Linked DNA regions of Homo sapiens: all the other regions are linked to region 6. The links are contacts of gene promoters, found by promoter capture Hi-C in blood cells and fetal thymus (Javierre and others, 2016). All regions are on one chromosome and are shown on one strand. Each heading gives the region's core, a stretch centred on a gene start or on the middle of the fragment in contact. The rest is flanking DNA. Distances are from core to core; before and after follow the strand shown. Region 1 overlaps ZNF180 (zinc finger protein 180). Region 2 overlaps ZNF235 (zinc finger protein 235). Region 3 holds the start of ZNF112 (zinc finger protein 112). Region 4 holds the start of ZNF285 (zinc finger protein 285). Region 5 overlaps CEACAM20 (CEA cell adhesion molecule 20). Region 6 holds the start of ZNF222 (zinc finger protein 222).

Evidence for each region. Contacts are between HindIII fragments. The CHiCAGO score rates a contact against its expected background, and 5 or more counts as called.
Region 1: a contact is called between a fragment that was not itself captured here and the fragment with the promoter of ZNF222 in region 6, in 4 of 17 cell types (M1 macrophages, monocytes, erythroblasts and 1 more). The highest score is 6.2, in M1 macrophages.
Region 2: a fragment that was not itself captured here is called in contact with the fragment with the promoter of ZNF222 in region 6 in 3 of 17 cell types (non-activated CD4 T cells, naive CD8 T cells and monocytes); the score reaches 5.9 in non-activated CD4 T cells.
Region 3: a fragment that was not itself captured here is called in contact with the fragment with the promoter of ZNF222 in region 6 in 1 of 17 cell types (megakaryocytes); the score reaches 5.2 in megakaryocytes.
Region 4: the fragment with the promoter of ZNF285 here is called in contact with the fragment with the promoter of ZNF222 in region 6 in 6 of 17 cell types (fetal thymus, erythroblasts, total B cells and 3 more); the score reaches 8.8 in fetal thymus.
Region 5: a contact is called between a fragment that was not itself captured here and the fragment with the promoter of ZNF222 in region 6, in 1 of 17 cell types (M0 macrophages). The highest score is 5.9, in M0 macrophages.

Annotation. Positions count from the first base shown.
Region 1 is chr19:44,485,530-44,489,512 of GRCh38, forward strand. All of the region lies in intron 2 of ZNF180 (zinc finger protein 180), which reads right to left. Among named protein-coding and RNA genes, the nearest start is that of ZNF180, 13 kb to the right of the region's middle. The HindIII fragment of the contact is 7,682 bases long and covers 1-3,983 here.
Region 2 is chr19:44,293,854-44,297,813 of GRCh38, forward strand. All of the region lies in intron 4 of ZNF235 (zinc finger protein 235), which reads right to left. It also overlaps the pseudogene NDUFA3P1. Among named protein-coding and RNA genes, the nearest start is that of ZNF235, 9.2 kb to the right of the region's middle. The HindIII fragment of the contact is 6,273 bases long and covers 1-3,960 here.
Region 3 is chr19:44,353,847-44,357,896 of GRCh38, forward strand. ZNF112 (zinc finger protein 112) reads right to left here and starts at 2,834. Exons shown (of 4, transcript NM_013380.4): 1 at 2,780-2,834. RefSeq lists an enhancer at 2,643-3,143. The HindIII fragment of the contact is 552 bases long and covers 1,063-1,614 here.
Region 4 is chr19:44,399,747-44,403,755 of GRCh38, forward strand. It overlaps ZNF285 (zinc finger protein 285), which reads right to left and starts at 1,862. Exons shown (of 4, transcript NM_152354.6): 1 at 1,822-1,862. RefSeq lists an enhancer at 1,259-2,015. The HindIII fragment of the contact is 3,728 bases long and covers 1,515-4,009 here.
Region 5 is chr19:44,505,931-44,510,397 of GRCh38, forward strand. CEACAM20 (CEA cell adhesion molecule 20) reads right to left here. Exons shown (of 12, transcript NM_001102597.3): 12 at 229-284. The coding sequence ends at 231. Among named protein-coding and RNA genes, the nearest start is that of ZNF180, 7.6 kb to the left of the region's middle. The HindIII fragment of the contact is 794 bases long and covers 2,821-3,614 here.
Region 6 is chr19:44,023,266-44,027,303 of GRCh38, forward strand. It overlaps ZNF222 (zinc finger protein 222), which reads left to right and starts at 2,114. Exons shown (of 4, transcript NM_001129996.2): 1 at 2,114-2,213; 2 at 3,758-3,884. The coding sequence starts at 2,172. It overlaps ZNF222-DT (ZNF222 divergent transcript), which reads right to left and starts at 2,017. Exons shown (of 3, transcript NR_184028.1): 1 at 1,850-2,017; 2 at 1,633-1,754; 3 at 1-634. RefSeq lists enhancers at 2,080-2,129, 2,360-2,409. The HindIII fragment of the contact is 1,542 bases long and covers 1,929-3,470 here.

The sequences.
Region 1 (3,983 bases), core at 720-3,219, 460 kb after region 6:
CATCCTGACCACGTCGGGTGTTTTTGTGACAGTCACAGTCATTAGTCTGTTGCTAATGACTCCAGCTCTGGCAGCCCACTGGCCAAGAGCTTCATATATTCTTAGAAGAAGTATAAATTGATACAACCCTCCTGTATTGGCTATATATTAAATATCTGTATTTACAAATACTGCTTTATTTTGAAATCCTTAAAGATTCACAAGAAGTAGCAAAAATAGAGCCACACTCAGCTTTCCCTGGTAATATCATATATAATGACAGTACATTGTCAAAACCAGGAAATTGAAATTTTGGTACAATATTATTAATTCATGTACAGAGTTTATTCCATTTTTATGTACATTCTTTTATTTTTGTTTTTTTAAAGGCAATATTTTTAAAAGTGTAATGTAACATCCATTAAGTCTACTTGTAAGTACTTATCCTTAGGAAATAACATAAAGTACATCAGGATGCATATACAAGAAACCTCATTAGCAAGTTACATTATCATAGCAAGATGGGAAGGGAGACTAAATGTCCACTAGGAAGTGCCTGGTTAAATAAATTATGCTTTATTCAGATGACTGAATATTATTTAGCAGCCAAGAGAAGAAATAAATTTGCATGTACCGATACATATAAATAATAGAAAGATGTCTATAATATATTGCTGAGTGAAAAAATGAAGAACATTATACAGAAGATGAATAGATTTCTATAAAATATAAATATGCACGGAAAAATCTGGAAAGATGTTCTCAAAAGCATTAAAAGGAGTTATTCTTTGAAGGGGTAGAACTGAGGAGCAGGTTCACTGTCTCTCTTTTAATGCTGCATCCATGTTTTTCAAAACCACTTATTTTAATTAAATATTTGGAAACCAGGAAAGGTGCTTCCCTCTTTAAAAATCACCTTGAAACAACGCAATTCCTTTGTAGTGTCCTCAGGTTTTTTCCTACAGGATACAATAATTCAGTCTGTTAAATGATAGCCCATTCAAGGATACTTTGCTCCTCCTCAAATCAAACACTGAAAAGCAACTACTGCTAATTTTTGATAACTCATTTCTTTAGAAGCCATTGGATCAAAAACTAAAAGAAAATAAAAGTGGCCAGGTGCAGCAGTTCATACCTGTAATCACAGTGCTTTGGGAGGCTGAGGTGGAAGGATCACTTGAGCCCAGGAGTTCGAGCCCAGCCTCAGCAACACAGTGAGGCTCCCCTGTCTATACAAAATATATAAAATAGGCCGGGCATGGTGGCTCACACCTGTAATTCTAGCACTTTGGGAGGCCGAGGTGGGCAGATTGCCTGAACTCAGGAGTTCGAGACCAGCCTGGTCAACATGGCGAAACCCCATCTCTACTAAAAATACAAAAAAATACAAATTAGCTAGGTGTGGTATACCTGTAGTCCCAGCTACTTGGGAGGCTAAGGCATGAGAATCACCTGAACCGGAAGTTGGAGTTTGCAGCAAGCTGAGACCATGCCACTTCACTCCAGCCTGGGCAAGAGAGTGAGACTCCATCTCAAAAAATAATAAATAAATAAATAAATAAATAAGCCAGGCACGGTGGTATGTGCCTACAGTCCCAGCTACTTGGGAGGCAAAGATGGGAGGATCACTTGATGTGGAGAGGTCAAGGTATAAGTGTGTCAATTTTTTCTCCTTATCTATCTAGAAAATATTTTACTATTACAGTAGGAATGGTTATTAAAAATGGCTAGCATTAATGTATTTAAAGGTAGGAAAGGATTCTCCAAACCTAAAAACACCACTGTATATTTACTGGGTAGGTTGTGAGGTTCACAATAAGTATCAAAGAGCCAGAGCTGCTGCAATGTAAAGAAGGCCCAATGTGAAAGCCAAGAGGTTGTGTTGCTTGCATTACTACCACACATACTACAACAGTTAAACTGCCTTTTTATTTTTTGTAGAAGACAGGGTCTCGTCATGTTGCCCAGACTGGTCTCAAACTGCTGGTCTCAGCGCCATGACAGTTTTGTCAGGAAGTTACCCTCTATGGTCTAAAAAGGAGAGGAACCCTCAGTTCTGGGAATTGCCCACCCCAGTCCTGGAAAACTCATGAATAATCCACCCCTTGTTTAGCAGAAAATCAAGAAATAACCATAAAAATGGGCAACCAGAAGCCCCTGGGGCTGCTCTGCTTATGGAGTAGCCATTCCTTATTCTTTTACTTTTTTGTTTGTTTGTTTGTTTTGGTTTTGGTTTTGAGACAGAGTCTCGCGCTGTCCCCAGGCTGGAGTGCAGTGGCATGATCTCAACTCACTGCAACCTCCACCTCCGGGGTTCAAGTGACTCTCCTGCCTCAGCCTCCTAAGTAGCTGGGACTACAGGCGCACATCACCACGCCCAGCTAATTTTTGTATTTTTTGTAGAGATGGGGTTTCACCATGTTGGCCAGGATGGTCTTGACCTCTTGACCTTGTGATCTGCCCACACTGGCCTCCCAAAGTGCTGGGATTACAGGCGTGAGCCACCGTGCCCAGACTACTTTTAAAAATAAACTTGACGCCCTCGCCCTCGCCCTTGCCCTCTCCCTCTCCCTCTCCCCACGGTCTCCCTCTCCCTCTCTTTCCACGGTCTCCCTCTCCTTCTCTTTCCACGGTCTCCCTCTCCCTCTCTTTCCACGGTCTCCCTCTCCTTCTCTTTCCACGGTCTCCCTCTCCCTCTCTTTCCACGGTCTCCCTCTCCCTCTCCCTCTCTTTCCACGGTCTCCCTCTCCCTCTCTTTCCACGGTCTCCCTCTCCCTCTCTTTCCACGGTCTCCCTCTGATGCCGAGCCGAAGCTGGACTGTACTGCTGCCATCTCGGCTCACTGCAACCTCCCTGCCTGATTCTCCTGCCTCAGCCTGCCGAGTGCCCGCGATTGCAGGCGTGCGCCGCCACGCCTGACTGGTTTTCGTATTTTTTTGGTGGAGACGGGGTTTCGCTGTGTTGGCCGGGCTGGTCTCCAGCTCCTAACCTGAGTGATCCGCCAGCCTCGGCCTCCCAAGGTGCTGGGATTGCAGACGGAGTCTCGTTCACTCAGTGCTCAATGGTGCCCAGGCTGGAGTGCAGTGGCGTGATCTCGGCTCGCTACAACCTCCACCTCCCAGCTGCCTGCCTTGGCCTCCCAAAGTGCCAAGATTGCAGCCTCTGCCCAGCTGCCACCCCGTCTGGGAAGTGAGGAGCGTCTCTGCCTGGCTGCCCATTGTCTGGGATGTGAGGAGCCCCTCTGCCTGGCTGCCCAGTCTGGAAAGTGAGGAGCGTCTCTGCCCGGCGGCCATCCCATCTAGGAAGTGAGGAGCACCTCTGCCCGGCCGCAACCCCGTCTGGGAGGTGAGGAGCATCTCTGCCCGGTCGCCCCATCTGAGAAGTGAGGAGACCCTCTGCCTGGCAACCGCCCCGTCTGAGAAGTGAGGAGCCCCTCCGCCCGGCAGCCGCCCCGTCTGAGAAGTGAGGAGCCCCTCCGCCCGGCAGCCACCCTGTCTGGGAAGTGAGTAGCGTCTCCGCCCGGCAGCCACCCCGTCCGGGAGGGAGGTGGGGGTCAGCCCCCGCCCGGCCAGCCGCCCCGTCCGGGAGGGAGGTGGGGGGGCCAGCCTCCCGCCCGGCCAGCCGCCCCGTCCGGGAGGGAGGTGGGGGGGCCAGCCCCCCGCCGGGCCAGCCGCCCCGTCTGGGAGGTGAGGGGCGCCTCTGCCCGGCCACCACCCCGTCTGGGAGGTGTACCCAACAGCTCATTGAGAACGGGCCATGATGACAATGGCGGTTTTGTGGAATAGAAAAGGGGGAAAGGTGGGGAAAAGATTGAGAAATCGGATGGTTGCTGTGTCTGTGTAGAAAGAAGTAGACATGGGAGACTTTTCATTTTGTTCTGTACTAAGAAAAATTCTTCTGCCTTGGGATCCTGTTGATCTATGATCTTACCCCCAACCCTGTGCTCTCTGAAACATGTGCTGTGTCCACTCAGGGTTAAATGGATTAAGGGCGGTGCAAGATGT
Region 2 (3,960 bases), core at 609-3,108, 270 kb after region 6:
TGAAATGAATGAAAACGAAAATACAATATACCAAAACCTCTGGGATAAAGCAAAAGCAGTGCTAAGAGGGAAGTTTATAGTGTTAAATGTCTACACTAAAAAAAAAAAAAGATAAAAAATTAACAACCTGTGTCTCACCTCCAGGAACTAGAAAAACAGGAAAAATCCAAACCCAAAGTCAGCAGAAGAAAGATATAACAAAGACCACAGCAGAACTAAATAAAATAGAGAACCATGGAACCATACAAAGGATCAATGAAACGAAAAGCTCGTTTTTATCTCTGAAAAGATAAAATTGATAGACTGCCAGTAAGACTAGCCAAGAAAAGAGAAGATCCAAATAAACATAATCAGAAATGAATGAGACATTACAACTAATACCATAGAAATAAAAAACATGATCAGACACTCTTATGAACAATACACTTGAAAACTAGAAATTCTAGAGAAAATGAATTCCTGGAAACATACAACCTCCCAAGATTGAGCCCATCTGGCTCCCAAGATTGAGCCAGGAGGAAACAGAAATCCTAAACAGACCAGTAATGAGCAGTGAGATTGAATCAGCAATGCAAAACCTCCCAAGAACAAAAAAGCCCAGGACCAGACAAAGGTACACTGGAATTCCACAAAAGGTACAAAGAACTGGTACCAATTCTACTAAAACTCTTTCAAAAAATCTAAGAGGAGAGAATCCTCCCTAACTCATTCTAGAAAGCCACTCTTGCTCTGATACCAAAGTCAGATAAAGACACAACAAAAAAAGAAAACTACAGAGCAATATCCCTGATGAATGTAGATGCAAAAATCCTCCAAAAACAAACACAAATCCCCCCACAAAACCCCCCAAACCAAATCTAATAGCACATCAAAAAGATAAGCCACCATGATCGAGTGGGTTTTATTCCAAGGATGCGAGAATGGTTCAACATACACAAACCAATAAATGTGATTCAGCCTATAAACAGAATTAAAAACAAAAACCACATGATCATCTCAACAGATATATAAAAACCATTTGACAAAATTCAGCATCCTCTCATGATAAAAACCTTTGACAAACTAGGCACAGAAGAAACATATTTCAAAATAATAAAAGCCATATATGACAACCCATAGGTAACATACTGAATGGGGAAAAGCTGAAAGCATTCCCCCTAAGAACTGGAATAAAACAAGGATTGCCCACTTTCACCACTCCTATTTCACGTACCACTGGAAGTCCTAGCCAAAGTAATCAGGCAAGAGAAAGACAGAAAACCAATCTAAATTGGAAAAGAGTAAGTCATTTAATATCTCTGTTTTCTGACAATCTGATCTTATACCTACAAATCCCTAAAGACTCCTCCAAAAGAATCCTAGATTTGACAAATGACTTCAATAAAGTTTCAGGATTAAAAAAAATCAATATACAAAAGTCAGTAGCATTTCTATACGACAATAATGATCAGGCTAAAAACCAAATCAAGAACACAATCCAATTTATAGTATCTACAAAAAAATTAAAATACCTAGGAATGTATTTAACCAAGGAAGGGAAAGATCTAACCAAGGAAAATTATGAAACAATAATGAAAGAAGTTGTAGATGACATAAAAAAAATGGAAAAACATCCCATGTTCATGGATCGGCAGAATCAATATTGTTAAAAAGACCATACTGCCCAAAGCAATCTACAAATTCAATGCAATGGCTATCTAAATACTAATGTCATTTTTTGCAGAATGAGGAAAAACAATTCTAAAATTCATATGGAACCAAAAAAGAGCCTGAATAGACAAAGCAATCCTAAGCAAATAACAAAGCTGGAGGCATTACATTACCTGACTTCAAATTACACTACATGGCTATAGTAACCAAAACAGCATCGTACTGATATAAAAATAGATACACAGATCAATGGAATAGAAAAGAGAACCCAGAAATAAGTCACATACCTACAGCCAACTGATCTTTGATAAAGTCGAAAAAAACATACACTGGGGAAAGGACATCCTATTGAATAAATGGTGCTATTTAATCCATCTTGAGTTCATTACCTGAGATCTCCAGAGATCCATAACAGATTCTAATAATAGCCATTCTGGCTGGTATAAGATGATATCTCACCATTGTTTTAATTTGCATTTCTAGAAATCACTGGTGATTTCAACCACAGGAGGCAACCTGAAAAAGCTCCAAGTGGTCAAAGTAGAAATAACTTGGTAACAAAATAAACAATGCAATACTGGATTATAACACGAAGTATAAATAAATACATATGAGCCCATACTGATTATAAAATGGATAGTAAGTGACAATAAGGAGTTACTGTTGTAGATAGACACTGATAAATCTATGGGTGATATGACATTCTCCAGCAAAAAATAAAAGGGAAAGATAAAACAGGAACAGCAGAAAGTTGATAACTGCTAAGACAGTATGGATATACAGAGTCTATGGCATTATTTACTTTTCTATGTTTTTTAAGTTTTCAAAATAAAAAGTTTAAAGTCATAGGAAAACAAATAGGTCATCCAAATTATGTGTATGTTGGGGGAAGGGTGGAGAAGCAGAAATTATCCATTTAAACTATCAGTCAATTTTCATTAACAGAAAAAGATGTAAAATGAATGTTAAAACTGAACTGAATGGTGGGATTACAAATGGCATCCTACTAAGTCATTTTTGTCACATATCTCCCTCAGTTTGGTGGATTAGATGATATCTTAACAAAGGACATAAGCAATTTTAGAATTAATCAATTTTCTATGTTTTATACATTTTTGAAGTATATGGACCTAACAAATATATACACGTAGACTATGATTATACAGAACACTCCACCCAATAACAGCAGAATACACATTTTTCTGAAGTACATACAGAACATTTTCTAGGATACACCATATGTTAAACTACAAAAAAGCCTTAATAAATATAAAAATATTAAAATCACACAAAGTATCTCTGCTGATCAAAATGAAATGAAACTAGCAATGAATAGCAGAATAAAACCTGAAAATTCCATAAATATGTGAAAATTCAACAATACACATACAACCAATAGATCAAAGAAGAAATCACAGGGGAAACTAGAAAATATCTTGGGATAAATGAAAACGAATCCACTGCAAAAACAGTGCTAAGGGGGAAATCTATAGCTATAAATGGTTACAATGAAAAGGAAAAAGGTCTCAAATCAACATCATAACCTTATACCTTAAGGAAATGAAAAAAGTAACAAGCCATCGCCATTACCAAGACCAAGATGGCTGCAAGACTTGCTGCCTTCTTCAGGAATGCCTGGGCCAAGCAGCCAGTGCTGGCTGTGTCCTTCACCATTGCAGGCCATGCTATAATTCTGCCCCCACTCAGCCCCTACACCAAGTATGCCATCATGATCAACCAGGCCACACCCTACAATTACCCAATGCCTGTCTGAGATGATGGGAGCATGCCTTATGTGTCCAGCCACCCCCAGGACTCCTAGGGCCCAACCCTGGAGTGGCTGAAGAAACTGTGAGCATCTCCACTGACAGGGAGGAGGACCCTCCCCAGTGGCTCCCAATAAAAATGTGAAAAGCAAAAAACAAAACCAAATTAAACCCAATACTGACAGAAGAAAGGAATCTAACCTTTTTTTTTGAGACAGAGTTTCGCTTTTGTTGTCCAGGCTGGAGTGCAATGGTGCGATTTCGGCTCACTGCAACCTCTGCCTCCTGGGTTCAAGCGATTCTCCTGCCTCAGCCTCCCGAGTAGCTGGGATTACAGGCATGTGCCACCACGCCCAGCTAATTTTGTATTTTTAGTAGAGACAGGGTTTCTCCATGTTGGTCAGGCTGGTCTCGAACTCCCGACCTCAGGTGATCCGCCCACCTTGTCCTCCCAAAGTGCTGGGATTACAGGCATGAGCCACCGCGCCCAGCTGGAAGATGGTATTTTAAGAAAGCCTCTCATGAAATGATTTCTGAGCAGAAG
Region 3 (4,050 bases), core at 89-2,588, 330 kb after region 6:
CCATATGATCCAGTAACCACACTCCTGGCTTCGTACCCTACAGAAATAAGCACAAAAAAAACTGTACATGAATGTTTATATCAGCTCTATTCATAAATGCCAAAAAGTGGAGGAAAAAGTCTATCAACCAGAGAATAGATAAACTGTGATACATCCATAAAGTGGACACTTCTGTTAACCAGAAGTAAACAGAAATGAAGTATTGATACGTATAACAACTTTGATGAATGTCAAGAGCAATTTGCTGAGTAAAAGAATCCGGTCTCAAATGTTAACATATAGCATCAGTTCATTTATACGACATTCTCAAAAAGACAAAACTATAGCGTTTTAGTGGTTATGGTAGTTGCCAGTGGTTACAGGTATGGTGAGGGGTAATTATGAGGGAAGACATGAGGGGAGTTTTTGGGGTGATGGAACTGTTCTTTTTCTGACTACGGTAGTCGTTATACAAACTATGCCTGTGTTGTAATAGAATTGTATACCAAAAATAACAAAATAGTCAATGTCACTGTAAAAACATTTTTTAAAAACCTGTTTTAAAAACCTGGAAACACAACCTCAGTTATAAGGCATGGTCTATAAATGTTGTTACCATTTCTAACAATTTGTTTCTTAGGAATTTTTTTAGATTATCAAAACATAACCAATCATTGCTCTTCAACTCTTCAATACTCTGAAATAGTTGGTGGATTATATAACCTACCAATATTAAGTGAGATTAAGGAATATATCCAGGGGTTATTTCTATTCTATTTTGATACCTAATTCCAATTCCACACTGCAAATCCTTGATGCCAGCTGTCTGTTGAGTAGCTACTCTAACCATAAACCCTTAACAACCTTGTACGATGTGCTGGGCACATGGAGAAAAGTATGACATGGTCCCAGAAATAGAAGAACTTTCAGTGTATGGATTTAGATAAAGAGAAATAAGAAACAAAGAGCTATAAGACTTAGGCAAGGCAAACTCTATACTGGAACACAAAATTCATCACCATCCTTCTCCAAGGTACAATTCTCTTGCATCCCCTAGCTTCCTCAAGTAAGGACCATTCTGTAAGCTTCAACGAATGAAAACCTTAGAGTAGCTGCTGGCATTTCCCTTTCAAAGTCTTGGATATAAGCAATTTATGATCATCAACGTTTGGCAATTATGACAATCAATCAAACGATATTATACTAAGTCGATGTTAGAGATTTGCTTTAAAATACTGAAACAAAAAAAAAAGGGACAGGGAGTTGATACAAGACTGGCAAATGTTAACAAAGGTTGAAGCTGGGTGACGCTTCCACAGAATTATTTTAGTCATATTACATTTGGCTATGCTTACAAATTTCCATAGTAAAAACTTAAGGGAAAAATAAAAGCTATGAAGCCTATTTGGTTAAACATGGGTGAAAATCCAAAAAGAAGTCTACTGGAAGAGGAAAACATTGAAATATTAATATTGTTACTGTTATATCTTGTGGTTAGCATAATTTTTTTCTTTTACACTTTCTATACTTTCTTAATCTTTTACAATATGCAATAATTTATATAATCAGAATATGAACTATAAATATTTCAAATAAAATTAAATTACAGATAATTTTAAAAAATCAAAAATTCAAAGCTTATTAACCTTGCTTTCACGGTCCTCTAGTAAAATCCAAATATGTGTTCTGAAGCTGATACTAAACACATCAAGAACTAAGGCAATGGATGGAAACTATTTGAATTCAAATCCCAGCTCAGGCTCTTACCACCTGGGTGACCTAAAGATAAACCACCTATGCTCTATGTCTGTTTGCTTATCTTTAAAATGGGAATGGTGGTACCCAACCCAGGCTCAAAGGGCTCTTGTGAGGATTAAAGATGTTAATTCATATCAAACTCTTAGAATGATCAGCACTAAATGTTTAAATACTATCTTTATTACTCATGCCCAAGTACTCCCTCATCCGTTTCTGCATTTATTGAACAAATATCAGCGCATCTTCGAGCAGAATTTGCCAGTGAATGATGGAAATATCGTCTTCCCTGAAAAGAAAGGATGATAAGTACTACTCAGGTGAGACTCCGCTGCCAAGTGCCAAAGGGTCATTCCCTCCTTCTCCCTGCAGCCTTTTTCAAGAAGTCAAGGCTAAAGAAGGAAAGGAGGATGGGGGAAATCAGAACTCCTGCATGAATTACAATGGACTACCCAGACAGCCAGGAGTGATCCTGTCCTAAAGAAAAATCTCTCAGTGATCAGAAAAGGGCCAGGGATACTCTGCAGCTGGAGCTCTGACCCCATCCTGGGTTCACAGAAGCTTTCAGGGAACTGAGTCCTTCTCAGAAAATTAAAAAGTGCTAATAACAAGAGACCCATCTTCTACCACCTGTCAGGCTCTGTTCCAAGTCTTTTTATTTAACTCTCAAAAGAACTCCATTAGATAGATACTAGTACCATTTTAAAGAAAAAGAAACATAGGCAGAGAGATTAAGATACTCGCCTGTTATTATACTGCTAGGAAGTGGCAGAGCTGGTTGATGGTCAGGGGAAAGGGCTGGGGAAGTACAGAACCCAGGAGATCCCCAGTCCCTGCGATGTAGGATCTTGGACCCCCGGCGCTAAGTGGGGATGCGCCAGCTGCCCCACACTGGAGAAGGCTCATTCAAAGATAACACAAATCCCGCCCTTCGCCGCAAGTGGATTATCCTCCCCTAGAGCTACTGCCCGGTTGCTACTGGACCCCAACAAAACGAACATCAGTATGGACGGAAGGAGCAGGAAGCAGGGCGGGGAGCGCTCACCTTTCTGGGAGGAACGAAGGCCGCGGCCTAGCGTACCTGGGGCGGAAGTGGCTCTGCCTACCGAGACCTCCTGGACTACGCTTCCCAGAATTCCCGACGGGATCAGGGAGACGGCCTCAGCCTCCTAGAGCGGAAGTTACCCGACTACACGGGGCTCCCAAACTACATTTCCCAGAATTCCTAGAAAAACTCTCCACTTATCTGCCTGCCTAGGACGCAAGTACCGGGTGCCAAGCTGAGAGCCTGGATGATATTTCACATGTGCCGGTCCCAAAGGAATTCCTTAACTCCCCCTTCCTGGAACCGAAATGCTTCCAAAGACAGAGAGCTCGTATATATATTTCTCTGTTTTACCCAGCGGACCGTGCATGAAAGGCGCCTTTCCTGGCGCGTGTGTCTCTGACCCTGTGGATCTTCTGGACAATTCCCGGAATTTCTTGCAGGGTAGCACTTTCCCTTAAGTCGTCTCTTTCTCGTTTGGATAGTCAGTATTTGTATAGTCACTATTCTCTTTTGGTTAGCCATCCAATTTTATACTGCTAGTCCAGTTCTACTGCCTTCCCCCTAGAGTTTGAATTTATTTTTCTTCAAACGCGACACAAACCCAAATAAACTCAACCAAAGCGGACTTTACCTACCTACCTACCTACTTACCAAGAAAATATCCCATAAAGGAGAGAACAGAGAAGCTTGCAATACAGGAAGAAAAAAGAAAAGAATTACAGAATGGAAGCGATGTGTGCGCTAAAAATGCAGGTACTTAAAGGAAATTGGGCTGATTTGTACTGGACACCGAATTTAAGGAATACAGGATCTCAACCTTTCTTTGACTCGATTACCTTTTTATTCCATTTTGGTGTGGACGCGTCTGAAACTGATAGTGCTGCTGCTACCTACCATAATGTGTTTGTTGCAAGATCCACAAGAACGTGGATGCCAAGAATCCACAAAAAAACAGATGCAACCGTTGATGAGGCCATAAGCAGAAACAGTAAATGGTTCCCACGTTTCCTCTGCTTTAACTACTGATGATGAAATGCAAGTCATAAGGCAAATAGAAGGGCTGTACTGATACAGACAAAATGTTATTATTATGGGAAGGGATAAGTCTCTTGTAAAACCTCGAAATTTTTTTCTTCTTTGAGAAAAATCTATCACCTATTTTCACCCTGCTCTTGATATAGCAAATATTGTAAGTTGTCTTATGGAGGACAGGATGATTCAGGGAGGACGGTGAATGGGTTGACTCAATCCAGAAAAGGAAGAGGAAA
Region 4 (4,009 bases), core at 612-3,111, 380 kb after region 6:
AGGAGAGTTTAATAAACAGACGGCTTACAATGGTGTTGGCTCGGGGTAAGGAAATCACAATGGATAAGGCTCTATCCTGGGGAGTGACAGGGAGGTGCCATTATAATACCTGGGCCTTAAGAGGTAAGGGGAGGGAGCAGTCCCTGGAGCCTGGAACTAAGAGGACTGTGTGGCCAGGGCCACCCAAACTATGACCTGTTGTTTAGAAGGGCAGCTAATCTGTGACAATCCTGCAGAGAGAGAACTGGGGGACAAGATACTCCAACTCACACTTCTTCCTCTCTCCAAACTTTCCTGTTGAGACTTCCCATTGGCCAAAGACAAGCAAGGCCAGAAGGCAATGGCGGCCTTTCAGGGCAGACAGCAGGGTGGAAAAGGTGGGGAGCCAAAGGCATGGGACACATGGCACCTCAAGACTCTTGTTTTTTCCCTATCTGCCAAAGTCCACACAGCTCTCGCACACAAATGCCTTTCTCATCCCTCACCCTGACAACTACTCTGATCTGAGGAATGCATCAGGAATGAGACCAGATGCCCATATCAACTTCTTCAGGGAATGAAGACCTAGAGGAAAAGTGCAGCTGAATCTGGAACTGCAATTGCCCAGAAACACGATCAGAAATGTAATAAATGCTGCTATTACACCTAAAATAATTAACACTAAATCTCTAACTTTATCAAATATACAGAGAGTGTTCAAACTTCAAATTTGTTGAGTGTAATTTAACAACTTATATTTGCTAATGTGCTTTATAATACTCAAAGTCCCTACTCCCTGGCTCACAGCATGTGAGGTGAGAATGGAGTTAATAATTTGGGGCAGTTCTTTTCTTTTCTTTTTTCTTTGAGACAGAGTCTGGCTCTGTCGCCCAGGCTGGAGTGCAGTGGCGTGATCTCAGCTCACTGCAAGCTCCGCCTCCCGGGTTCACGCCATTCTCCTGCCTCAGCCTCCCGAGTAGCTGGGACTACAGGCGCCTGCCACCGTGCCCGGCTAATTTTTTGTAATTGTTTTTTGTAGTAGAGACGGGGTTTCACCGTGTTAGCCAGGATGGTCTCGATCTCCTGACCTCGTGATCCGCCCACTTTGGCCTCCCAAAGTGCTGGGATTACAGGCGTGAGGCACCGCGCCAGGCCTGGGACAGTTCTTTTCAAAATGTATTCGGTGACATTAAACTCTGGAGTTATTACAGTATTACAGTCTGAGTTGTTTCTTTATTGCCAAAAGCCAGAACCTCTGCCTTGAAGTCATAAATGCCCCAATGGAGTCAGAGCTGCCAAAATCCAGAGTTCAGACCCAAGACAACTCCCCATCCAAGAACCTAGGGGTGCTGAGCCAGAATCGCCCCCACCAAACTGAGCGAGAACAGCCGAAGCCATCCTCTATATCCAGAGACTAGCTGCTTAAGCAAATCCCTCATCCCATTCAGGGACGCACAGTCCAGCCATTACTCCAAAACCCTGAGCCAGCGCCCCTCTGCCCTCATCCAGAGATGCACATCCCAAGACTGACCCTAAGCTTCGACCCGAGGAGGCACAGCGCAAGTCGCTGTCACGAAACGTGAAGATGCACTGTTTTGTCAAACCCAGGGCTGCTCCCCAAACCGAGCCCACGCTCGAGCCCACGCTCTTCCCATCCTATCCCGGGTAGGTCGGGCCGCTGAACTTCCCTAGTCTACCCCACCTACGAGGCCTTATCATTGGTTACCAGTCCCCTCTTCCACTCCTCCTACTTCAGTCCACAGGGACGGGTCACAGCTGCACATCCTACACTCCTACTCCTGGCTACGCCTCCAAGAGGGGCGCGGTACAGACGGGACTCACCCCAGCGTCCCAAACAATGTCGCCCGCAGCGTGCGTCCAGTACCATGGCGCATGCGCAAGGAGGCCTATGGCCTACAATCCCCAGAAAGCCCCGCGCGCAGCAGTGGCCATTCGCAAGGCTACCCTGGTGAAGGTGGCCTTTGACTTCCGTGCATTTGGAAGTCCTTTGACTTCCGTGCATTCGTCTAAAATAACGACAATCATAATAACGATAAAATAATGAAATGTTAAATAAATCACTATCAACGATGAAAAGAAGTTTCAATATTTTACTACTTGGAAATGGGCACTTTACCGTTTTAGTGAAGACTTTTATAAGTTCTTATTTTATAGGCATGTCTTTTAACGTTAAAACCACGAAACTTTTCAATTAACACTCACTTAAATAATTCCCTCCCCGCCCCCCACCATGTTTTATTTCTGTTGATGAAAACTCTGGATAATCTACACTTGCGATATAACATAGCCCTGTAATTTATTTCCTAGTCTCAGAAGAAGCAGAAGGAATTAACAACTATTGTCTGAATCCTTAACAGGGGAATTGCAGGAGTACTGAGAGTGTCCTAAAAGAGACACATTACAACATAACAAGAAAACGCGGGAAGTTTTCAGATTCTTTTTGAAAATTTGCCCTTGTTGAGACTTAGGCTTTATTTTACTTCATGTTATTGCATTTAAGATTTAAGATTTCTATTAAAGAAAAATTTGGGTACCCTAAATGGGGTAAGAAAATTGAATAGGAATTCCATTAGAGGCCCACAGTTTTAGCCTGGAGGAAAGCCCTGATAACGTGTGAGAACAATCTGTCTCCTAGGAAAGGTCACCTGGTCCTGCTGGCAGAGTCTCTGTTTGGAATATCTGGCTGGCATTCCCTTTTCCACGCACCCTCAAGCTGTAGGGGTGGTGAGGCGGTTCCAGTCCTAGACTAGATAGAGAAGTGAAGACCCCCACCTCTACGCAATGGGCAGGAAATGGTTGAATAATATCCAACTATAGCTTGACATCGCAGCTTAGGGCACATAAAGGGACAGTGCAATTGTTTTGGCTTATCTCTGTCTTTTGATGTTTACATGTTTGATGTTCTTATATATTGCTCTAAGTTGAAGGATTACTTGATTTAATTTGACATACTTGAATTTTAAAAAACGAGTTCAGGAACATTTTTATTTTTGACCTAATACAAGGTTAATTTTTGTGACATCTGTGTCTGTTGGAAAACAATGTGTCTTCTCTATCAGATGGATATGCATACATTTATATTTTCCCCAGACTTGCTAACTGTGCTATTTAAATTTCCTACATGCTTATTTGTGCTTACTTAGATTTTTTCATTATGCATCTGTCAACGATTGAAAAGTGCATGTCAAAAAGGTTCCCAGTCTGGGCGTGGTGGCTCAAGCCTGTAATCTCAGTACTTTGGGAGGCCGAGGTGGGCAGATCACGCGGTGAGGAGTTCAAGACCAGCCTGGCCAAGGTGGTGAAACCCCATCGCTACTAAAAATACAAAACTTAGCCAGGCATGGTGGCAAGCACGTGTAGTCCCAGCTACTTGGGAGGCTGAGGCAAGAGAATCACTTGAACCCAGGAGGTGGAGGTTGCAATGAGCCGAGATCATGCCACTGCACTCCAGCCTGGGCGACAGAGCAAGACTCTGTCACCAAAAAAAAAGAAAAAAGAAAAAAGTGAAAGAAAAAAAAGCCTATAATGGTAAATTTGTCATTTTCCTCTCTATAGCATTTGCTTTATTTATTTATTTATTTATTTATTTATTTATTTCCTTTATTTTTTTTTTGAGACTGAGTCTCGCTCTGTTGCCCAGGCTGGAGTGCAGTGGCGCCATCTCAACTCACTGCAAGCTCTGCCTCCCAGGTTCACACCATTCTCCTGCTTCAGCCTCCCGAGTAGCTGGGACTACAGGTGCCCGCCACCAGGCCCAGCTAATTTTTTTGTATTTTTAGTAGAGACAGGGTTTCACCGTGTTAGCCAGGATGGTCTCCATCTCCTGACCTTGTGATCTGCCCACCTCGGCCTCCCAAAGTGCTGGGATTACAGGCGTGAGCCACCATGCCCAGCCTGCTTCATTTTTCAAAAGTCAAGTTACTAGGTATACAAATGGCTTTACTTTTTAAAAGTTGTGTTGTTAGGTATGGAAGTGTTGTATTCCTTATCTGAAATACTTGGGACCAGA
Region 5 (4,467 bases), core at 1,968-4,467, 480 kb after region 6:
ATCCACGGGCTGTCATTTTTACCCTTACTATTGCTTTGAAAAAAAATATGAGTCAAAATCTAAGATTCTATGGAAGCCAGGGCCTGACCAACCCATTGCAGTAGAACATCACAAGGTCTACAGAGATGACAGAGAATGACTGGCTTATAATATGCACTTAATAAATGTCATTAAATATATGATCAAGCATGGTTTCTCTAGGACTCCTGGAGAAAAGATCTCTGCTTCCATTAGACGGAGGGGTTGATTTGGATGTAAGTGTTGGGCTCTGGATTCACAAGCTCCTGTTAAACAAAGAGAAAATGTGAGCTCCATTTGCTAGGTGGACCCTCCCAGTCTACTCACTGTAGTCTGGGGCCCAAACAGCCTGGAGCTTTCCTTTCTTTGGAAATTCCAAAAATCTTCCTCCATTCTCATCACACTTTAGTAACCCTGGCACATCTCTGTTCCTGGAATGGCCCATGTACTTCCCCACTGTGGTAAACAGACTCTAAAGTGGTCCCCATAATCCCTGCCTCCTGGTATTCATTCCTTTATGTAATCTCCTCCCCTTGAGGGCAAGACCTGTGACTTGCATCTAACCAATAGAATATGGCAAAGGTGGCAGGATATACATGATTGCATGTATGTGATTCTGTTACATAAGATTATGACTTCTGTCTTGGCTTGAAGAAGCAAGATGCAATGTTGTGAGCTGCCTGTGGAGAGGGCCACATGGCAAAGAACTGAGGATGACCTCCAGCTGACAGTAAGAAACTGAGGCCCTCATTATGACAGCCTGCAAGGAACTGAATGCTGCTAATGACCACATGAGCTTGGAAGTGGATCCATCCCCAGCTGAGCCTCAGATGAGACCTGGGCTTTGACTGGCACCTTGATTATACAGCCTTGCAGAAGAGCTAACTAAGCAATGCCTGAACTCCTGACCCACAGAAACTGTGAGATAATGAATTCATGTTGTTTTAAGCTGCAAAGTCTGTGGTAATTCATTATACAGCAACTGATAACTCTACACCCTCTTCAGGGCCTTTTTTACTGATGCCTCTCAAGTTGGAATGTTTCCTTTCATACTGTTTGCATGGTTTGCTCCTTCTAATCCCTCCAGAATGTAGCAGACACTGAGTTCACTGAGTTGACTGACCTAACCTTCTTCCCCACACCACCTCCCTTGCTTGCTTCTATTGAAGAGGCTGGGAATGTTAATGTACCACTTTCTCAGCCTCTGTTGCTACAAGGAGCACCATATGACCTTATTCTGGCTAATGAGATATAAGAGGAAGCTTACTAGGTGGTATTTCTGGGAAGACCTTTTGCCCGACTAATAATAGGAAACAAACATGGCTCCCCTACGCAGACACTGGTGAAGAGAGGGACTTAGGTGGCTAAGTTTTTACCAGTTCAAAGCTGATTAGAGAGCTGACAAAACTAAACATGATCCATACCATGGCCTGAATCAATCTGATTCTTCTATGGAGAATTTGAACCTAGAAATGCTTAAAGGGCAGCAGAAGATGTTGTTATATATACTCTGAAGTTATAGAGAAGCAATGACCAGGACATTTACATAGAAATTCAATCTGGATTGAGAAGAATGAGATGAATTCATAGATTAGTGAAAATGAGAAACTGTATAATAAGAGAGAAACAGCTTCTTGATAGCATTCAAGTCGCCAAGAGGCCCAGGAGTAATTTCTGAAATTGAGTTATCTGATATTTCTCAGTGTTCTCTCAATTAATCCCCATTCGAACTACATTCAAAGGGTTTAACTTTCTTAACATTAAAAATTCTTGACTAAGATATTAATATATGAAACATTCAGCCAGGTGCAGTGGCTTGCGTCTGTAATCCCAATACTCTGGGAGGCCAAGGTGGGATGATCGCTTGAGCCCAGGAATCTGAGGCTGCAGTTGGCCATGATCGCACTACTGCACACAACCTGGGTGAAAGAGCAATACGTTGTCTCAAAAAACTAAAAAGGTGTATAGGATATTCACATTTTTCAAGAATAGTTATCTGTCTGTTAGGCTAAAATCTACCCTTCTTTTACCTATCCTCCATGGTAATTTATGTGCCCTCTGGAACAACAAGGAACACATTTATCCCTCTACTTGAAGCCTGTCAGACACTAAAATATTGGAGTTCTCTGTCCCTAAACTTTCTCTTTTCCAAACCCAAGAAAACCCTGTCAGTAGGACATGGATTTGAGCCCCTGTTCTGGCCTCTCTCTTATTCCTCCTCTGGATAAATTCTGACTGGTCACTGGCTTGTTCAGAATATAGAATCTGAAGTCCATTCTTGGAATTGGAGTAATCTGGCTGTCCTGATGACAGGGTTGAGATCACTTGCATTCTCTAAAATAATTCTACTAGTCCTTAGAACTATGGAGCCATCACTTGACTGCTCTAAACTTGTTACTGGAATTTTGCTTATGCCTGGATGAACTAATAGTTTTCTTCTTTTTTATTTTTTTCTTTCTGAGACAAGGTCTTGTTCTGTTGCCCAGGCTGGAGTGCAGTAGCTCGACCTCAGCTCACTGCAACCTCCGCCTCCCAGGTTCAAGTGATTCTTCTGCCTCAGCCTCCCAAGTAGCTGGGATTACAGGTGCCTGCCACCATGCCCAGCTAATTTTTGTATTTTCAGTAGAGACAGCGTTTCACCATGATGGCCAGGCTGGTCTCTAACTCCTGACCTCAAGTGATCTGCTCGCCTCCACCTCCCAAAGTGCTGGGATTACAGGCGTGAGCCACCGCGCCTGGCCCAGTTTTCTTCTTTTTGAATGATGTAACTAATCATACCTCTCTGTTTTATTGTTACCAGGAAGCTTAGAGACACATAAGAGATATAGTGGCAGATATCACGTAGGCCCAGTATATATTTTTACTTTTTACCCATATATTGACTTCTTGCTATTGTTAAAAATATTTTTTCTGATTGTAATTTCTATTTCTAATTTAACACCATTTTGTAGTGTTGTATATAAACTGCTTCAAATCTTCCATGGGAAAAACTGCTTCAAATCTCCCATGAGAAAAATGTGGGGAAGTAAATATCATGAATGAAATGAAAGATTGGAAAGGAAAGGAAATGAATGAAAAGGAATAGACTATTTAGGAATGTAACTGAAAGAGATGGCAAAGGCATAAATGAAATGGAGGGAAATTGAATAGGACAGAAAGGAATACAATAAAAATTAAAGGCAGAGAATGGAGTGAAATAAAATGGCATGATGTCCAAAGAAGTGCAAATGAAAGAAATTAAATGAAAAGGAAAATTGTAACAGAAAGAAAGAAATAAAGTAAAATAAAATGGAGCAGAAAAGAGAGTAATAAAATAAGGTAATGAGGGGAGAGAAGTGGAGAGGAAATTAGAGAAAAGTAATATAGTAGAAGGAAAGTATAACATTAAAGAATAAAAATAAAGCAACGAAATTAAAAAAAAAACAGAAAAGGGGGGAAATGGAATGCCATGGAATATAAAATAATGAAATGAAATGAAACTGAAATCAATGGTATAAAGAGTAGGAAATGCAAAGGACTGGAAAGAAATGGAAAGAACTTAAATGAAATGAAAAGGAGTGGAATGGAATGACTTGAAAAGAAGAAATTAAATGGAAAGCTTGAAAAGGAAAGTAATAAAGACAAGGGAATGAAGTGCCATAAAGGGCATGAAGGGAGAGGATGAAGTGAGAAAACATGCAGTAGAATGGAATGGAATAGAATAGAGTGGGGTGGATTGGAAAGAAATGAAAAGGGAAAGGAATTGAAGAGAACAGAGGGAGAGGAATGGAAAACAGTGAAATAGAATTGAATGAAAGGGAAGGGTATGGAGAAGAGAAAGTGAATGGAAAAGAAAGAAGGGAATGGGAAAAAAGAAAAATTGAATGGAAAAGAAATATAAAGAATAAGAACTGGAATGTAGTGGAATGAAGTGAAAACCAATCAAATGGAAATGAATGTAAATAGGGACATTGCCTAGGAAGGAATGGAGAGGTAGGAAATAGAACGGATGAAATGGATTAAATATATGGATGGAAATAAGAAGACTGAAATGGGATGGGAAGAATAAGAATGGAAACGAAATAAAGTCGTGGGATGGGAATTGAGTGGGCTGGAATAAAACAGAGTGTAATGGAATGTAAAATAAATGAATTGAAAGGAATTAAAAGAAAAAATAAAAATGGATAAAATGCAATAGAAAGAAAGGAAAAGAATGAAAAGGAATGAAATAAGAAAGAGATGGAAAGGAGTGTAAAGGGATCAAACAAAGCTGAGTGGAATGGAATGAAAAGGCATGGAATGAGCCAGGCAGGGTGGCTCATTCCTGTAATCTCAGCACTTTGGGAGGCCAAGGCGGGCAGATCAATTGAGGTCAGGAATTCAAGACCAGCCTGGCCAACATGGTGAAATCCCGTCTCTACCAAAAAATACAAAAATTAGCTGGGTGTGATGGCTCGTGCCTGCAGTCCT
Region 6 (4,038 bases), core at 864-3,363:
CAAAACCTCCCAATGTAGAAAAGCCCAGGATCAGATGGCTTCACTGGCAAACGCTTCAACACATTTAAGGAACATTTAACACCATAGCTGCTCAACCTCTTCCCAAAAATGCAAGAAGAGAGAACACTTCTTTGATCCTTCTGTCAGGTCAGTATTACCCTGATGCCAAACCAGAAAAAGACAATTCAATAAAATTATACACCAATATCCCTTATGAATACTGATGCAAGAATTCACCAGCAAAATACCAGCAAGATCCAGCAGCATATTAAAAGGATTACACTTAGTGACCGAACTGTTTTATTCCTGGAAGGCGAATATAATTATGGTTCAACATACAAATATCAATGTAATACTCCACATGAGCAGAGTGGAAGGTATAAATCACATCATGTCAGTGAATGCAGAACATTCAGTTTCACAAAATTCAGCACCTAGCACCTTTTCATGATTGAAATACCAAATAACTAGAAGGAGAATAAACTACCCCAGCAAAATAAAGGCTATATATGGAAATTCTCAGAGCTGATTGTCATACTCAATGGTGAAGGACTGAAAGCTTTTCTTCTAATATCAGGAACACAATGAGTTTTCTCCACTTTTCCCACATTTAGTCAATGTAGTATTGGAAGTTCTATGCAGAACAATTAGATAGAAAAAGAAAATAAAGCTATTAAAATTGGAAACAGAGGTAAAATTGTCTATATGCTAATGACATGTTCTTATATATAAAAATTCTAAAGAATTCACAAGAAAAAAAAACTCTTAGAGCTAGTAAAGTCAGAAAGTTGCAGGAAAAATATCTACATAGAAGAAGCAGTTGTATTTCTATACAAAAACAATTAATCTGAAAAGGAAAATAGTTCCCTTTGCAATAGCATTAAATAAATAAATTACTTAGGAACTGTCTTAACCAATGACAAGAAACACTTGGACACTGAATTTTGCAACATCTTACTAAAGAAAATTAAAGAAGGCACCCCAGGCATGGTGGCTTATGCCTGTAATCCCAGCACTTTGTGAGGCCCAGGCAGGCGAATAACTTGAGGCCAGGAGTTCGAGATCAGCCTGGCCAACCTGGTGAAACCCCTGTCTTCACTAAAAATACAAAAATTGGCCAGGTATGGTGGTACGTGCCTGTAATCCCAGCTACTTGGGAGGCTGAGGCAGGAGAATCGCTTGAACTCAGGAGGCGGAGGTTGCAGTGAGCCAAGATTGTGCCACTGCACTCCAGCTTGGGCGACAGAGTGAGACTCTGTCTCAAAAAAAAAAAAAAAAAAATTAAAGAAGGCGCAAATAAATGGAGATATATCCATTATTAATGGATTGGGCGACTTGATATTGCAAGGCTGTCAATACCTATATCTATAGATTCAATGCAATCCTTAATCACAGTAACATTTTTCTCAGAAATGAAAAAATCCACCTGAGATTCATGTGAAATATCAAGGGACACTCTCTCCCATGGTCATATTTTAGACCTCGTCATTTTCTAGCAAATATTCCTCCATAATAATTTGCAGCACTACTCTCCAACAACTTTGACTTGTATTTCCACCTTGGTCCCACCAGCATGCTAGCATCAGTAATATTAGAACCTCGCCAATACCTACAGTCCACTGAGACGATCACCTTTTTACTCTTTCAACTCCTCGTGTACTCACAGCCTGCCAAGCACATTTCTTGTCAGGAGAGGACAGCTCACTTCTCCTAATGTCTCACTTCCCAAAATTGTGTCCCATGAAAATTTCTAGCTAGATGAAGGCAGAGAAAGAAAATATTTGATTTCTTAGGCTTTATGGAAGCGATAGGAATGGCAATAGTGGTTTGGAATGGAGACTGCACGCACCAGTCAACAGGGTGTGTCCCGAATAAGCAGTGGGTAAAGGACATTTACTGAAATGCTATCTCCAACTCCACTTCAGGAAAGCTTGCTGCAGAGTTAGAGTGATATAGTCCAAATGCTCTGTTTGAGTCGCGGGCCCTTTGTCTCACACGGGCGAGTCCGGGGAATTCTGGGAAGTGGAGTCCACACGCTCTGTGGAGGCTCGAGCACTTCCGGTCCCCAACTGTGACGTTGCTATTTCATTTACCACAGTAGTTTGAGTCATTTCCACATCTTGCGAGTCCTTCCGAACGAGTCTCCTTTCCTTGGGGCTCGCAACCACCCAATGATCGATTCAGGAGAAAAGAAGCCTGGGCGGAGAGCAGAGGTTTGGAGGGGCGCGGGCGGGGATTGCCGTTCCAGTCAGCTGAGCCTTCTGGCGTCGGGGGGCTCTGCTAGGGTCTCAGGGAGTGGGATTGGCGCGGCCCGGTGTGCCCTACTTTGACCTCGCTTAGTCCGCCTCCCTCCTCCCTACGTGTGCAGCCCCTTTCAGTGTGGTGTGGAGTGTCACTTAATGTCCGTTTATCTTCCATTGCTGGTTCGTTTGTTTGTTTGTTTTGTAACGGGACTTTTCGGACCATCCTAATGGATTCATTTTGGGACCTGAAAGAGGTAACACAAATGAGAGCCTTAAAAGCAGTCCCTGTCACTCGGTGTCTGGTGGTCTCTTGTTAATTTCCCACGAAGCCTGTCAGGTCCTCTGGTGGGGTCAGAGCTCCAGCTGCAGGGGCGCCGGCCCTTCTGCCTGATCCCTGCAGGACGCTGGATGATCCCTGACGCCTTCTGACCTCTTTTTAGGAAAGTGAGGGGAGCATTTAACTTTTATGGGGGACGGCAAAACGGTCAGGGTGTTTCACAGCTTTCTTTTTCCCCAGCCCGACCTTTCTAAAAGAGCTGCAGGAAGGGACTTCTTGGCTACTGATGGCAAAGCTCTACGTGAGTGATCCTTGGCTTTTTTTCTTTGACAGAGATGCTTACCTCAACCGAGAGTGTGTAGGATTTGTCCCTCGGGCATGGGTGTCGATAATGATTAAGCCTTAATTGGTAACTTTATTCCAAGTACTTTATACCCCAAAATACATGATCTTCACAGTGGCACTGTGGAGAGGTGCTGCTTTTTTCATTTTAAAGATGGGCGTGAGACACAGGTGGAGCAGGAGTTGAAACCTAGGCAGTCCAGGTTAGAGCCTGAGTTGATCATCTCTTGAATGCAATTCTCATTGAGGCAGAGGTACTAGCTGGGAACAGGTGGAGAACGTAAGTTAGGACTTGATTGAAGGCACCTTGAGGCAAGGCTCAGGGGCTTGGACTTCTATAGGAGTTTTTGTTTGTTTGCTTTTTGCTTTTTAATTTTTTTAACCTTATCTACTATTTTCTTTCTCTCTCTCTCTCTATATATATATATATTTTTTTTTTTACAGAGTTTCGCTCTTGTTGCTTAGGCTGGAGTGCAGTGGTGCAATCTTGGCTCACTGTAACCTCCGCCTCTCGGGTTCAAGTGATTCTCCTGCCTCAGTCTCATTTTCGTCAAAGGGCCCGCGACTCAAACAGAGCATTTGGACTATATCACTCTAACTCTGCAGCAAGCTTTCCTGAAGTGGAGTTAGAGATAGCATCTCAGTAAATGTCCTTTACCCACTATTTATTCAGGACACACCCTGTTGACTGGTGTGTGCAGTCTCCATTCCAAACCCCTATTGCCTAATCAGTCATTGTCAGGACACAAACAGAATAAGTAGGAAATCTATAAGCTGACCTATGTCTCTCAAGATCCAAAACAACTTTACACTTGTCCCTTGTGCCAGTGCAATGCTGCTGTCTCCCAATAGTCTTTGGCCGTAAGATTGAGGTGACATCTGCTTGATGTTGTAGGAGGCAGTGACCTTCAAGGATGTGGCTGTGATCTTCACTGAGGAGGAGCTGGGGCTGCTGGACCCTGCCCAGAGGAAGCTGTACCGAGATGTGATGCTTGAGAACTTCAGGAACCTGCTCTCAGTGGGTGAGGACGGGCACCCCCTGTAATGGAATGTCAGGCCCCAGGAGTGGTTTTTTAATCCTAGGGTTTTCAAGTTTGAGTGTGCAGTGAGAACCTACATTTCCAGTAAATTTTGCCTGGCTATTAGGTTGGTGCAAAAGTAATTGTGGTTTTTGTC